2 separate regions of the Homo sapiens genome follow, and region 2 is linked to region 1. The links are contacts of gene promoters, found by promoter capture Hi-C in blood cells and fetal thymus (Javierre and others, 2016). All regions are on one chromosome and are shown on one strand. The core of a region is centred on a gene start or on the middle of the fragment in contact, and the rest is flanking DNA. Distances in the headings are between cores, read along the strand shown.

Region 1 (6,502 bases), core at 1,282-3,781:
TCCTGGGAGGCAGAGGTTGCAGTGAGCTGAGCTGAGATCCCGTCACTGCACTCCAGCCTGGGCAACAAAGTGAAACTCCATCTCAAAAAAACAAAAACAAAAGCAGAAAACAAAAAACAAACCTCCAAAAGACAAATGCTGGCATCATGACCCTGGATCATGCAGCCTCAGGACACCCAGTAAAGCAGACTACAGTATTTATACTCCCCGTCTTAGCAGCAGGGAGATGGAAGCTCAGAGATATCCAGTGACCTGCCAAAGGGCATATAGCCAGTGCTGTGAAGTCCTGACTTCCAAGGTCTGTCCAAGGATCCCTCAGGCTCCATCTGCCAGGATCCCAGGAGCTGCTCCTGAGCCCAGCCTGAGATTCCTTGCAGAGGAAACTGTGACCTGTCCACTACTGACTTAGCTGTGTACCCTAATGGTCATGGGTTGGCAGAGAGAATGAGCTCTCCACCATGGGAGGTGTGTAAGCAGAGATGCGTGAATTCACCCCAAGGGCTCAGAGAGCACACAGTACTCTCTCAGGGACAGGCTGTCCCCCACTCCCCACAGCCTGGGCTGCTCCCTGCTGATTTGTGGGTGTAGCCATCCTTTCCCACGCATGTGTACAAGTGTGGGTGGGCAGCAGCCATGGGTGCTGATGAACCTTCTCCGATGCTGGCAGGTATTTTGCCCACACACTGCCAGTGTGGCCTGTTGGGAGCAGGAGGAGGCCAGATAGGTGTGTGCTGGTCTCAGAACACGCTTAGCTCTGTCCCATCCTGGTTTTCCCTTGGATAGGCTTGAACACACCCATCATGAACAGGTCTGTGGACTTGGTGCCCTTCCTAGATTGACTGAATCTACAAGGAATTGGCAGCCTTTTAAGGTGGGCAAGTCAGGATGATCAGCCCACTCTGCAGGGCCAGATACTGAGGCTCAGGAAGGACCAGGACTTGCCCAAGTTCACTCAGCTGGTTAGGGGCAAGGTTGGGGGGTCTTTAGCCTCCAAAGGGAAGACAGAAAAGATCCTTTTCCACCCCTGACCTCTACCTGGAAGACTCCTGCCCCAGGAGATGCAACTTAGATCCCTGTCCCTCAGGCCTCTCTGTCCTGCAGAGCTGGCGTCTGCTGTTTGGCCTCCTCCTCGTGTGAGCTCTGGGCTCATGCCAGCGGACTTGAGCCCCGGAATGAATGCCTGTCTCACACGGTAGATTAGATTATATAAATAACAGGCAAGTGCCAAATGCATAGCCCTACACCTAGCACACTATTTAACCACTGGCTCTCTGGGGAGAAAAGTCCTGATTTGAGGTGTTTGCCAATTTCCGCAGTGTAAATACTCCCAGCATTGCTGACTTCAGGCTACAGGGTGGCATTGCTGAACCCAGAGCTGGGAAGGGATGTTCACTGTTGCCCCTCACAAATTAGTTTCAGCCAGTGCCAGTGCCCAGCGGGGCTCCAGGAAGTCCTGCTTCTCTGGGTAACAGTTGGCCTGGCATATTCTTCCCTCTACATTGTGAAGGTGAGATATCGCCTCTGCTGGCTTTTATGCCACATGAGTTATTTTGTGCCAGGGGCTCCAAGGCCTACAGGCCCACAAGCATCTTTTCATCTCTGGAAGTGTGTGTGTATCTGATGGGGGTGCCAGCCCAGTGGGATGGGGACTGAGATGAGAATACTCTGGTATCTCCCTTGTGCCTCAGTTTCCTCACCTAGGATCATGGAGGCTGGGGTAAGGGTGAAGTGTTAGCTCAGGGCATTGCCTGGAGCAGGGCTCAGAACTTAGCAGTATGGTTACTGACACAGGTCACCTGCTGCATTAGGGCCAGAGACGCCCAAGAGAGGGCTTGTCCGTGGGGGTCTAGAGGAGGAAGGAGCTAGAGATCATGGAAGACTTCTCGGGAGAGGTGGCATCTGGCAGAGGTGGGAAGGAAGAACACTTTGGGTCAAGGGGCTTCTGGAAGCCTCTCCATATCCCATCCAAGGCATTCCAGCTCAGCTTCGGTCTTGAAAGTTCTGGGATTTAGAGCATATAACTTCTGCCTTTGGCGCCTCAGTTTGCTCTAGACTGTGAAATGGGCATAATGATCACCAGTGCCTCCCTGGGTGATGATGAGGTCCTCATGGTTCCTGGTGGTGAAGTGAGGGCAGGAAAGGACACGCTGAGCCCCACCAGGCTTAGCCCCAGGCTGGGCTCCCGAGGGCGGCGGTACCCCTGGTCCTTTTCTTCCTAGCCTGCCCATTCTGTCCTGGCACAGGGCCTTGAGGTCTAGCGCGCCGGGCTGCGGCGTGCTGAGGCGTTGAGCCTGCTGCCTCCTCTCAGGAAGAAACGGGGTCCTCCGCAGCTGACAGCCCTGCGGGGCGTTCCAAAGAACTTCAGAGGACAGGAGCGCTACCTCGAGCAAAGAACCGCGGGTGGGAGCCCAGGTAGCCGGCCCGCAGGTGGCCGCGCGCGCCTGCCAGTCAGCCAGCCCGTCCGCAGCCAGGTGGGCGTGCCAGGCCCAGCCCCCTGCGCCGGTCCGGGGCGGGGCGAACGGAGCCCCGCCCTCCCCGCGCGCCGGGTCGGAGCCGGTGCGGGAGCGGAGCCGCGCGAAGCCGGCAGGAGCACGCGGGAGCGCGGCCCCGCAGTGGCCCGGCCCGAGAGAGCAGCGCGCAGGAGCTGGAGCGGCGCCACGGCCCCCACCCCAGCGCGGACCTCGCCCGGAACTCGGACCCCGTCCTCGAAGCGTGATCTCTCCCGCCTCGCACGCCCTGGCCGCCGGGCCGCGGGCATGGACGGCGTCCGCTCGCCCTGTGAGTGCCGAGCCTCCCCTCAACGCCGCTCGCCGCCTTTGTGTGCGCGCCGCGGCGCTGCAGCCCCCTCCCCGCGCGCCCCTCCCGCGCCCCGGGCCCGCGTCCTTTGTGGAGCCGCCGCCGGGCCACTGCCTTCCTCCCACCCCCGGGCTTCCCTATCCCCTTTACAGCTGCCTCCGGGACAGCCTAGCAGAACCCTCCTGGGCCAGGGCTGGGCAGGGCGCGAGATCCCTCTGCCGGCCTCCGGGGCCCTCAGGGACACCCTAGCAGGTCCTCTCTCCCAGGGTTCCAGGGACACCACAGGCCCGTCCCTCTCCGCAGCCTGGGGCTGAGCAGGGCACGGACCCCTCCTCCCCAACCCAAGCCTCTGGTCCCGTCTGCAGCCCCCCTTTCCCAGGGCCCCCAGAGACGGCCCCCGCAGGCTCTCTCCGCGGCCGGGGCTGGGCAGGTTGCGGGCTTAGGGCGGCGTTGTCTCATCCGGCGGCCTGGGCAGGTGCGGCAGGGCCGGCGCTCACGCGGGCCTGTGTGTCCTTGGCCCACAGAGATGGACGGCGATGGCGGCCGCCGAGACGTCCCCGGCACGCTGATGGAGCCCGGGCGCGGCGCGGGGCCCGCGGGCATGGCGGAGCCTCGGGCGAAGGCGGCGCGGCCGGGGCCCCAGCGCTTTCTGCGGCGCAGCGTGGTAGAGTCGGACCAGGAGGAGCCGCCGGGCTTGGAGGCAGCCGAGGCGCCGGGCCCGCAGCCCCCGCAGCCCCTGCAGCGCCGGGTGCTTCTGCTCTGCAAGACGCGCCGCCTCATCGCGGAGCGCGCCCGCGGACGCCCCGCCGCCCCCGCGCCCGCAGCGCTGGTAGCGCAGCCGGGAGCCCCCGGAGCCCCCGCGGACGCCGGCCCCGAGCCCGTGGGCACGCAGGAGCCCGGCCCGGACCCCATCGCAGCCGCTGTCGAAACCGCGCCTGCCCCCGACGGCGGCCCCAGGGAGGAGGCGGCGGCGACCGTGAGGAAGGAGGATGAGGGGGCGGCCGAGGCGAAGCCTGAGCCCGGGCGCACTCGCCGGGACGAGCCCGAAGAGGAGGAGGACGACGAGGACGACCTCAAGGCCGTGGCCACCTCTCTGGACGGCCGCTTCCTCAAGTTCGACATCGAGCTGGGCCGCGGTTCCTTCAAGACGGTCTACAAGGGGCTGGACACGGAGACCTGGGTGGAGGTGGCCTGGTGTGAGCTGCAGGTGAGGGTGCCCCAGCCCGCAGGGGGCTTTCCGCAGGGTCTGTCCGCGAGTGCGTCCTTGGGCCTGTCCTTGCTCCTGCGCCTGGCCTTAAGAAGCCCTGGGGGCGGCGGGGCTCCATGTGTGTCACCCTCTGTGTGGATGGCTGGCAGGATGCATACCAGGTGTGCGGACGGCATGTGGGGCCTGGCTGTGTCCGTGCGCAGGTTGCGGTTTGTGAGTCAGCTGGTGGCGAGGGCAGGCCTCTGTTGTGCGTTTGGTGTAAGTGTGCACGCTGTGGGCGTAGAGAGGGTCCTGGAGAGTGGGCCTCGGAGGCTGTGTCTCTTAGGCTGCTGCTTCTCCAGTCCCGATGACCTACTTTAATGACCCAGGGAGTCTGGACTGTTGTGTCTTTGCAAAACAGTGTGGAGGCTTCAAGGCCCGGTGTGTGCAGTCAGAGTGTTTTGGGGGCTCTGGGCTGCCCATAAATTAGTACTTTCCTGTGTCCAGCAAGCCGTGGCTGCCCCAGCAGGGATACCTGCAGAGACTTCTTCTGACCCAGGGCCTGTGACCCAGAGGTGGTGCCTGGTAGAGCTCTGGGGACAGCTGGGCAAGGCCTGGAAGTGTGGTTAGTCGCCTCTGCTGCTCTGAGAGCTCCATTTGTTCACAAAATGGACGTGTGAGAGGTCTTAAAACCGAGTCATGCAGAATGCGTGTGGGGGTTTTTCTTGGCTGCAGAGGCTCTGGGCATGCATTTTTCATAATCCTGCCATCACCGTGGTGTCAGCCCCAGCCCTGCAAGATTATATAAACAGCCACCTTAGCTGTCCTGGGACAGCCTAGGAAGCAGAGGCCATGCCTGTCCAGGGGGTGTTTACAGGCCTCCCTCCTTGGAGGTGGGCAGCTGTCAGGCGTGAGCCAGTCTGGGAGAGTGCCGGCTGGAGGTGTAAGTGTACTCTGTTGGCCTGTAAAGTTAGCTGGCTGTCCAGTCCAGGCCTGAAACGGGGCTGGGGCTAGCTGGGGCAAGCTGTGTTCTGGGGCCGCTGGCCACACTGCGGGACTCTTGCATTTTTGACTCAGAAGTGGGATTCAATTGCTATATCCTCCGGCCCCGACAGGGTGGCCTGCGTGTGTGTGCAAGCCTGGATAATTCGGTGGGTGTCGACCTGTCGTCAGCCTTTCTCCCAAGACAAAGAGCTCCAGAGACCTGCCTCTCCACCACCCCTTGGTTCTGCCTTGGAGATGTGGCTTTTCAAGTTAGGGGTCAGTGGCATTGTGTGAGGTCCTTAGGAGGGACTGAACAGCTCCCCTCCCTCATGGTCCTGTAGGTTCTGATGGTACAGGAAAGGCAGTGGGTGGGGCAGGGGGCTGTGATCTGGGGGTCCTGGGGTGTGCTGGGCATTCCTGCTGCAAGGGAAAGCAGAGAGAAGAGAGGGCCTGAAAGGGGAGACGACTCTTGATTCTGGCGAGCGGTCTTCCTGCTCTTGCCCTTCTGACCGGAGCACCCTCAGGTGCTGCCTCTGCAGGGTGGTGGATGGAACAGGGGTGCTGCAGTAGGCTGGATTTGAGTTAGACCTCGGCAGCCAGAGCCTGCTGATCTGGCTGAGGCATCGCAGGCGCATGTGACTCTTGGAGCTTGTTAGTTCCCATTCCCTTTAAGGAAACGCAGGCGATTCTGTCTCTGGGTCTGTCCCCTGCAGGCATGGGGTGGAGCCTGGCCTCTGTCCAGGGGTCTCTTGCTCCTTGACTCTAGGTGGGAACAGCAACCGAGAGGTGCTTCTGGTCTATATGCTTTTTGTCTATATGTTGATGTTCCTTGCCAGGATGTTACTGGTGCCCCAAACTTGTGGTTTCCCTGCATCTCCCCCAAAAGAAGTACCTCCAACATTTGTCCCTAGTCGATGTGTGTCATTTGGGATCAGCTCTCTCTGTGCTGATCTGAGAGGGTTTTCCATGAGAGGGAGTCTGGACCTGCTTAGAATAGCCCCCTTTGCTGAGAACTTGGTGTGTGTTGGGGCTGTGCTGGAAGTCTCGTCATCACAAACTGTGAGGACTGAGGGGAACAACCCCCAAGGTCACCAGTGAGGAGATGGCAGGGCATTGTGGGATCAGGGGAGGAGGGCCCCTGCCTGTGTGTAGAGTGGTGTAGGCTGACTTTGTGCAGAGCTATTGGAAGGACTGATGGGACTGCCTGTGTGATGTCCTGGGTATGGGCCAGGGGCTGCTGGGCGTGTGGAACGGAAGAGGGTGGGGTGTAGGGCTGCAGGGAGATCAGGGGCTGTGGGAGGGGCGTTGGACTCTGCGAGGGGAGTGTGCTCCTGGGTGGGATGTGGGGTCAGGTCTCACTGAGCAGGGAAGGGTGACAGGTGGGTGCTCCTTCTCTAGGTGTGTTGGCTTTGTGTCGTGAGGGGCTCTCTTAGTCCACAGTGTGGAGATGCCATCCTGCACATGACCGCTAGCATTCTGGGCATGGGGAGGGTTCCTGGGAGTCACGCTTTACACTGTAGAGGGAGGGTCTAGGGG
Region 2 (6,502 bases), core at 2,092-4,591, 110 kb after region 1:
CACCCCAGCTGTGGCTGCTACGAAGAGAAGCTTGTAGGGGGCAGGAAGGTGTGGATGTGAGAACACTGGGGAGAGGAGCTGCTATAGGCTCTGAGAGCCTGGGTGACAGGGGCCAGGAGCCAGAGACAGAGGGTAGAGATAATGGGGTGGGGACTAGAAATGGCAGAAGTGATTGGGAGCCAGGGGCAGGTGGGGTCTAGGGAAAGGGCAGGGAGAGGACCAGAAGCACCTCAAAGGAGAGACTTCCAGGAGCCTAAGAACAGGAAGTGGATGCTGGGAGGGCCGTGGAGTCCAGAGGGAAGTGTGGGGACCTTTTAGGAAAGGGTGGGGAAGATTTTCAGCCTCAACTGGGAATTGAGGTGACTTGGCATCTGATAGGCAGTAGCCAGCAGCTCCCCAACCTTGCTTTCATTTGAACCCTCTGAATACCGAGGTGCCTGTGCCTCATTGCAGCATTTCTGCCATGAGCGTTGGGGTTTCCTAGGGCTCCAGGAGCCCTGTGCTGAGCCCAGCCTGTGCTTTCAGATGTCCCAGGCCGCGGGGCTCTGTGGTGAGCAGCCCAGGGGCAGCTTGGAGTGGTCCAGGGCACCCCCTGTGTCGGAGCCACATTGCAGTCTGGGACCGCGGGAGCTGGACCATGTGGGTGCGGCCTCGGAGCAGAGTTCCAACCTGGATAAGCTCCAGCCTGGATAAGACGCTCCCCTGCCCACGCAGCCGCTCCCCAACGCTGGGGCAGTCAGCACTCTCTTGAAATAGTACTCCCTTCCAGAAGATCATCTGATGCTCTGTCTCTCTGGTGTTTGTAGGGAGAAAGCCATTCAGAGTTTTATTTTTATTTATTTATTTTGTTTAGTAGTTAGAGGAAGTCATTAAAAAAAAACAAAAAGCCTATGTGGCAGGTGTTGAAATTCAGGAGTAAAATCAGAACTTGCTTCCTCATTTCCGACCTTGAAAACTACCTGTTTTTCTTGCCATCAAAGGAAGAGGAGGGGCACTTGGGGTGAAGGCAAGGGGTTACAGGCCTCCAGCCAGGGCCCCTGGGGTGGCCTTAGGCCTTGCAGAAGCTCAGAGCACTGTGATGCAACAGGGAGGCCCAGCTCCACTCCCCATCCTCTCCTCTCCATCCTCCCGTCACCATCCTCCCCTCACCTTCCTCCCCCACCTTCCTCCCCTCTCTATCCTCCCCTCTCCATCCTCCCTTCACCTTCCTTGTCTCTCCAGCTTCCCCTCACTTTCCTCCCCTCTCCATCCTCAACTCACTTTCCTCCTCTCTCCATCCTCCCCTCACCTTCCTCCCCTCTCCATCCTCAACTCACTTTCCTCCTCTCTCCAACCTCCCCTCACTTTCCTCCCCTCTCCACCCTCAACTCACTTTCCTCCTCTCTCCATCCTCCCCTCACCATCCTCCCTTCACCTTCCTTCCCTCTCCATTCTCCCCTCACCTTCCTCCCCTCTCCATCATCCCCTCCATCCTCCCCTCACCTTCCTCCCCCTCTATCCTCCCCTCACCTTCCTCCCCCTCTATCCTCCCCTCACCTTCCTCCCCTCTCCATTGTCCCCTCTCCTTCCTCCCCTCACCACCCTCCCCTCACCATCCTCCCCTCACCACCCTCCCCTCACCATCCTTCCCTCACCTTCCTCCCCTTTCCATCCTCCCCTCACCTTCCTCCCCTCTCCATCGTCCCCTCCATCCTCCCCTCACCTTCCTCCCCTCACCTTCCTCCCCCTCCATCTTCCCCTCTCCTTCCTCCCCTCACCACCCTCCCTTAACCATCCTCCCCTCACCATCCTCCCCTCACCTTCCTCCCCCTCCATCCTCCCCTCACCTTCCTCCCCCTCCATCCTCCCCTCACCTTCCTCCTTCTCCATCCTCCCCTTACCTTCCTCCTTCTTCATCCTTCCTTCTCCCTCCTCCCCCTCCATCCTCCCCTCACCTTCCTCCCCTTGGCCTCCTCCCCTCTCCATGCTCCCCTCTCCATCCTCCCCTTACCTTCTTCCCCCTTCATCCTCCTTTCTCCATCATTCCCTCTCCATCCTCCCCTCACCTTCCTTCCCTTCCATCCTCCCCTCACCTTTCTCCCCTGCCCATCCTCCCCTCATCCTCCTCCCCTCTCCATTCTCCCCTCACCTTCCTCCCTCTCTATCCTCCCCTCACTTTCCTCCTCCTCCTCCATCCTCCCTTCTCCATCCTCCCCTCACCTTCCTCCCCCTCCATCCTTCCCTCACCTTTCTCTCCTCTCCATTCTCCCCTCATCTTCCTCCCCCTCCATCCTTCCTTCACCTTCCTCCCCTCCGCACCCTCCCCTCCGCATCCTCCCTTCAGCCTACTCCCCTCCCCATTCTACCTCCCTCGACCTTCCTCCCCTCTGTTTCCTCCCCTCTGCATCCCCTCGGCCTCCTCCCCTTGGCTTCCTCCCCTCCGCATCCTCCCCTCCCCATCCACCCCTCAGCATCCTCCTTTCACCTTCCTCCCCTCCGCATCTTCCCCTCCACATCCTCTTCTCGGCTTCCTCCCCTCGGCTTCCTCCCCTTGGCGTCCTCCCCTCGGCGTCCTCCCCTCGGCGTCATCCCCTCCCCATCCTCCCCTTCCCATCCTCCCCTCCACATTCTCCTCTCTGCATCCACCCCTCCGCATCCTCCCCTTTGCATCCTCCCCTGGGCATCCTCCTCTTGCCTCGGCAGTTCTAGACTCTGCCCTTGCCCATGGTCAATGAGCCACCTGCATTTCACCTGCGGGGTGATGTGGGACCTGTGGCAGTGGGCTCACATATGGTGTGGCATGGCCCCTGGAAGTCAGTGAGCGTCTCGCTGACTTCTTCATGCCGTGTTGCATTGGTCTGAGCTGCCTTCCACTGTCTGTTTCCCCTGTGGAGGAAATAACACACATTTGCCTGATAAATGGAGGCAGTCTCTAGTGCCTGGCACCTGCTGATTTCCCTTCACCTGTGTTCATGTTTGGGACTTTCATTGCAAGTATCAATGTAAGCATTCCGAGTCTGGGTATTTGGAAGTTTGAGGCTTCTTAGCCTGGCCCGTGCTGTTGGGCACGTCGATGCCAGAGGCCCACTACCTTGGGACCTCCCCGTTTAGATATGAACAAACAGTGTCATTTTACAGCCCCTGTGTGCCGCTTTAGAGTGGCCCAGGCCAAGGCACAGGCAGGGTGCCCACCCTTCATCCCATGTTCTCCCACGCCACCTCCCTCCTGGAGGAGCTGGCGGTGTTGGAAACACCGAGGAAGCCCATCGGCGCTCCCTCCTGTCCCCTCCTGCAGGCACCTGAAGGAGATCTCGGAGCTGCAGAGCCAGCAGAAGCAGGAGATCGAAGCTCTGTACCGCCGCCTGGGCAAGCCACTGCCCCCCAACGTGGGCTTCTTCCACACGGCACCCCCCACTGGCCGCCGGAGAAAAACCAGCAAGAGCAAGCTGAAGGCAGGCAAGCTGCTAAATCCCCTGGTGCGGCAGCTCAAGGTCGTGGCCTCCAGCACAGGTCGGCCTCCGGGTGCAGGGCTGGGATGGGAGCGGGGCTGGGGACCCCCGAGTGAGCCTGGGAGGTAGGCTCCGTGCAGGTGTGACACCCTCGGACCTGGAAGACCACTCGGGGTTATCTCCTTACTGAATCTCCTTTCCCTGGAGCAGGGGAGTCATTGCAGCATGAAGGCAGCCCTGGTCCTCCGTCCTCATGCAGAGAGGCAAGGCCCGTGAGTGGGCAGGGGCTGCTCAGCGTTGGGCCTGAGACTCTAGGCTGTGGGCTGTGCCAGGGAAGCTCAGGCTGCCCTCCCTCACCTGCTCCTCTGCAGGGCACTGCGTGGACGGATGGTGGCTGCTTCCTTTGACCCATTTCTTGGGTGTGTGCCAGCCGAGCAGCTGTCGTTAGGGGCTGGGGGAGGACGGGAGGACGGTGATGATCTCCCAGTCTTGTTAAAGGTGACACCTAGTCATTGAGTGGCACTGGCCTGGCCCCAGGCAGCCACCAGCCCACGTCCCTGCATGTCAGGGCTTCCTGAGGCCTCCTGAGCAGCACTGCAGCCTGCTTGCTGGTGGAGAGCCCTGGCAGTCTGGGATGGAGCCCCTGTGAGCCCAAGTCCCCAAGCATGCCAGGCAAGCCACCATAAGCTCACTATAAGCCCACAACCTTCAGGGCACACAGCCATGAATTATACCCATTACACGAATTCAGAGACAGTTCCCAGAGCTAAGGGAAGACTGAGATGAGAAGTACACAGGCCACTGTGTGCCTGGGTGTGTCTTCTGTCACTATATTTGCTCAACACAAGTCCAGCACGGCAGTGGGGGCTGGTAGAGACTGGGCACTTTCTTTGCTCTTCCCCATCACTCCTCTGTGGGAGATGTGGCCATGTGCCTGTGGTCTGCAGGAGACGTGAGCTTCCCCAAGGTCACCCAGCAATAAGCAGGCAGAACAGACTCAATCCACACGGCCCCGACCCGGCGGCGCCTCATCGTGCCTGTCGCCTCTTCTCCCCCCGCCCAGGTCACTTGGCTGACTCCAGCAGAGGCCCTCCCGCTAAGGACCCTGCCCAAGCCAGTGTGGGGCTCACTGCAGACAGCACGGGCCTGAGCGGGAAGGCAGTGCAGACCCAGCAGCCCTGCTCCGTCCGGGCCTCCCTGTCTTCGGACATCTGCTCCGGCTTAGCCAGTGATGGAGGCGGAGCGCGTGGCCAAGGTGATTTCCAGCTTGCCTGTCTCCGAGCATGTGCTAGCCACGTAGGGCCTCAGTGGTGTCCCCAGGAGCACGCCCGTGTTGTGTAGAGGGGTTGCAAGCTGTGGCAAAGGCTGTTGAGAGGCTTCTTTTAAAAAGGATAAAAAAAAAAAGGTGTAGTCTTTGGATGAAAGGAATGGAATTGTCCCATCCACCACCAAGTCTTGCTTGTAAGCAGCTCAGGGGGAGGTGATGCTTTGCTAGAGTGGACCTTGGGGAAGTGGCTAGGACTGGGGAGGGCAGGGGACCTGGCATCCGGCTGTGTGCTCCGGCGCCAGTTCCCAGGCACTGGCTGCCCCACCCCCACCCCCACAGCGGAGCCAGATGGTGCTAAACACCGGGTCCTTCCAAAGTCCAGAGGGACGGCTGGGGGGACGAGGGCACAGCTTTCGAGCTGGGAGTTTGGCCTTGAGGAGGAAATTCTCTCGTCAACGCTGCGTGGACAGCAGCAGCTGCTCAATAAGGTGCTCTCCTGTCCTCACCATCTCTGTCCAGAGAAATCATGGTGACCATGAAGCCGCCCCGCCCCGCCCACCCCACCCTGCCCGCCCCTCTCCGGGCTGCTTCTCTTCTGCTCTCCCGCTGCCTCCTTCCCATTACATGGTCAGTGGCTTTGGTGCTCCGGGCTGGGCTAGATGGAGCCGTGGATGTTAAGTGACGAGGCTGGTGTGGCTGTTGGTGTGGAGGAGGAATCGCAGCAACCTGTACTTGATGAGTGTCTCTTTGTTTTCTTCCCTTTATATTCATTTGCAGGCTGGACGGTTTACCACCCAACGTCTGAGAGAGTGACCTATAAGTCTAGTAGCAAACCTCGTGCTCGATTCCTCAGTGGACCCGTATCTGTGTCCATCTGTCTGTATTTGTTCTTTTGTATTTTATCACCTCCTGGCCCTTGGTTTTCTCCCCCCACCCCCTCCCTGTCTTCATTACCTTTCATACATTTCATAGGATGCCTCCCCCACCCCATCGAAGTCACCTATTTAATATCAAAGTGGAACCCCATGAGCCGGTCCCCTGGAGCGGCGGCCGCCAGCGCCTACCCCCAAGCCCCACACAGCGTGTGTGCATGCTCATGGCTGGTGCCTGGGCACGGAAAGCATGTGCAGCGGCTGGCCTGCCTTCCGCCCCGGGCACCTCTGCCCAGAAGGACTGGAGCCCTTTGCATTCTTTTCGTCACCTCATTTATTTAATTTTTTTTTTTATGTTGGATGTAGTTTTTTTTTCTGTTGCAATTGTGGCAAATATACATGTCCGCTGTCCCCAGTTCCAGCGACAACAAAAAGACAACCCCAACCTCCTCCAGATGCACAGTGTGTGTCACGCGTGTCTGGACTGTGAAGACATGCACATAGCGAGCCTATACGGTTCTAAAGGTCACTGGAGGGCGTGGTTTCTGTACCAGGGCCAAATCCCAGCACCCAGTACCCTGCACACCCACCGCCCTGTGCCCTGCATGTGGAAATGCTGAGAGAACGTGCTCCAGTTCGGGCCTCCCCAGCCCCTCCCCACTGGAAGGGCAGGTCTGGTCCCCTTTGTCATTGCTCCTCACCCACTGCTGTCTCCAACCCCAAATAGGAGAGTGACGGCCACCTGGGCAGCTCTTCTTTGGAGCATGCATCCTGCTTGGCCGGCTCCTCCTCCTCCTCCAGCCAGTGGGAGCACTTTACTTGCTGTATTTTCCTGTGACCTCCCATGACCGCAGGGATGAAGTCAATGACGCAGTTCCTCCAATTGCTACTAAGCCAAAACCCAGTCCCAGCCTTGCTCAGATCCCCTGGAACAC

Evidence for each region. Contacts are between HindIII fragments. The CHiCAGO score rates a contact against its expected background, and 5 or more counts as called.
Region 2: a fragment that was not itself captured here is called in contact with the fragment with the promoter of WNK2 in region 1 in 2 of 17 cell types (M1 macrophages and M0 macrophages); the score reaches 6.4 in M1 macrophages.

What each region holds. Positions count from the first base shown.
Region 1 is chr9:93,181,608-93,188,109 of GRCh38, forward strand. WNK2 (WNK lysine deficient protein kinase 2) reads left to right here and starts at 2,532. Exons shown (of 30, transcript NM_006648.4): 1 at 2,532-2,778; 2 at 3,321-4,003. The coding sequence starts at 3,323. RefSeq lists an enhancer at 4,570-5,535. The HindIII fragment of the contact is 9,715 bases long and covers 1-6,502 here.
Region 2 is chr9:93,294,579-93,301,080 of GRCh38, forward strand. WNK2 (WNK lysine deficient protein kinase 2) reads left to right here. Exons shown (of 30, transcript NM_006648.4): 24 at 3,275-3,489; 25 at 4,492-4,683; 26 at 5,473-5,571. Among named protein-coding and RNA genes, the nearest start is that of WNK2, 110 kb to the left of the region's middle. RefSeq lists an enhancer at 4,174-4,674. The HindIII fragment of the contact is 6,626 bases long and covers 29-6,502 here.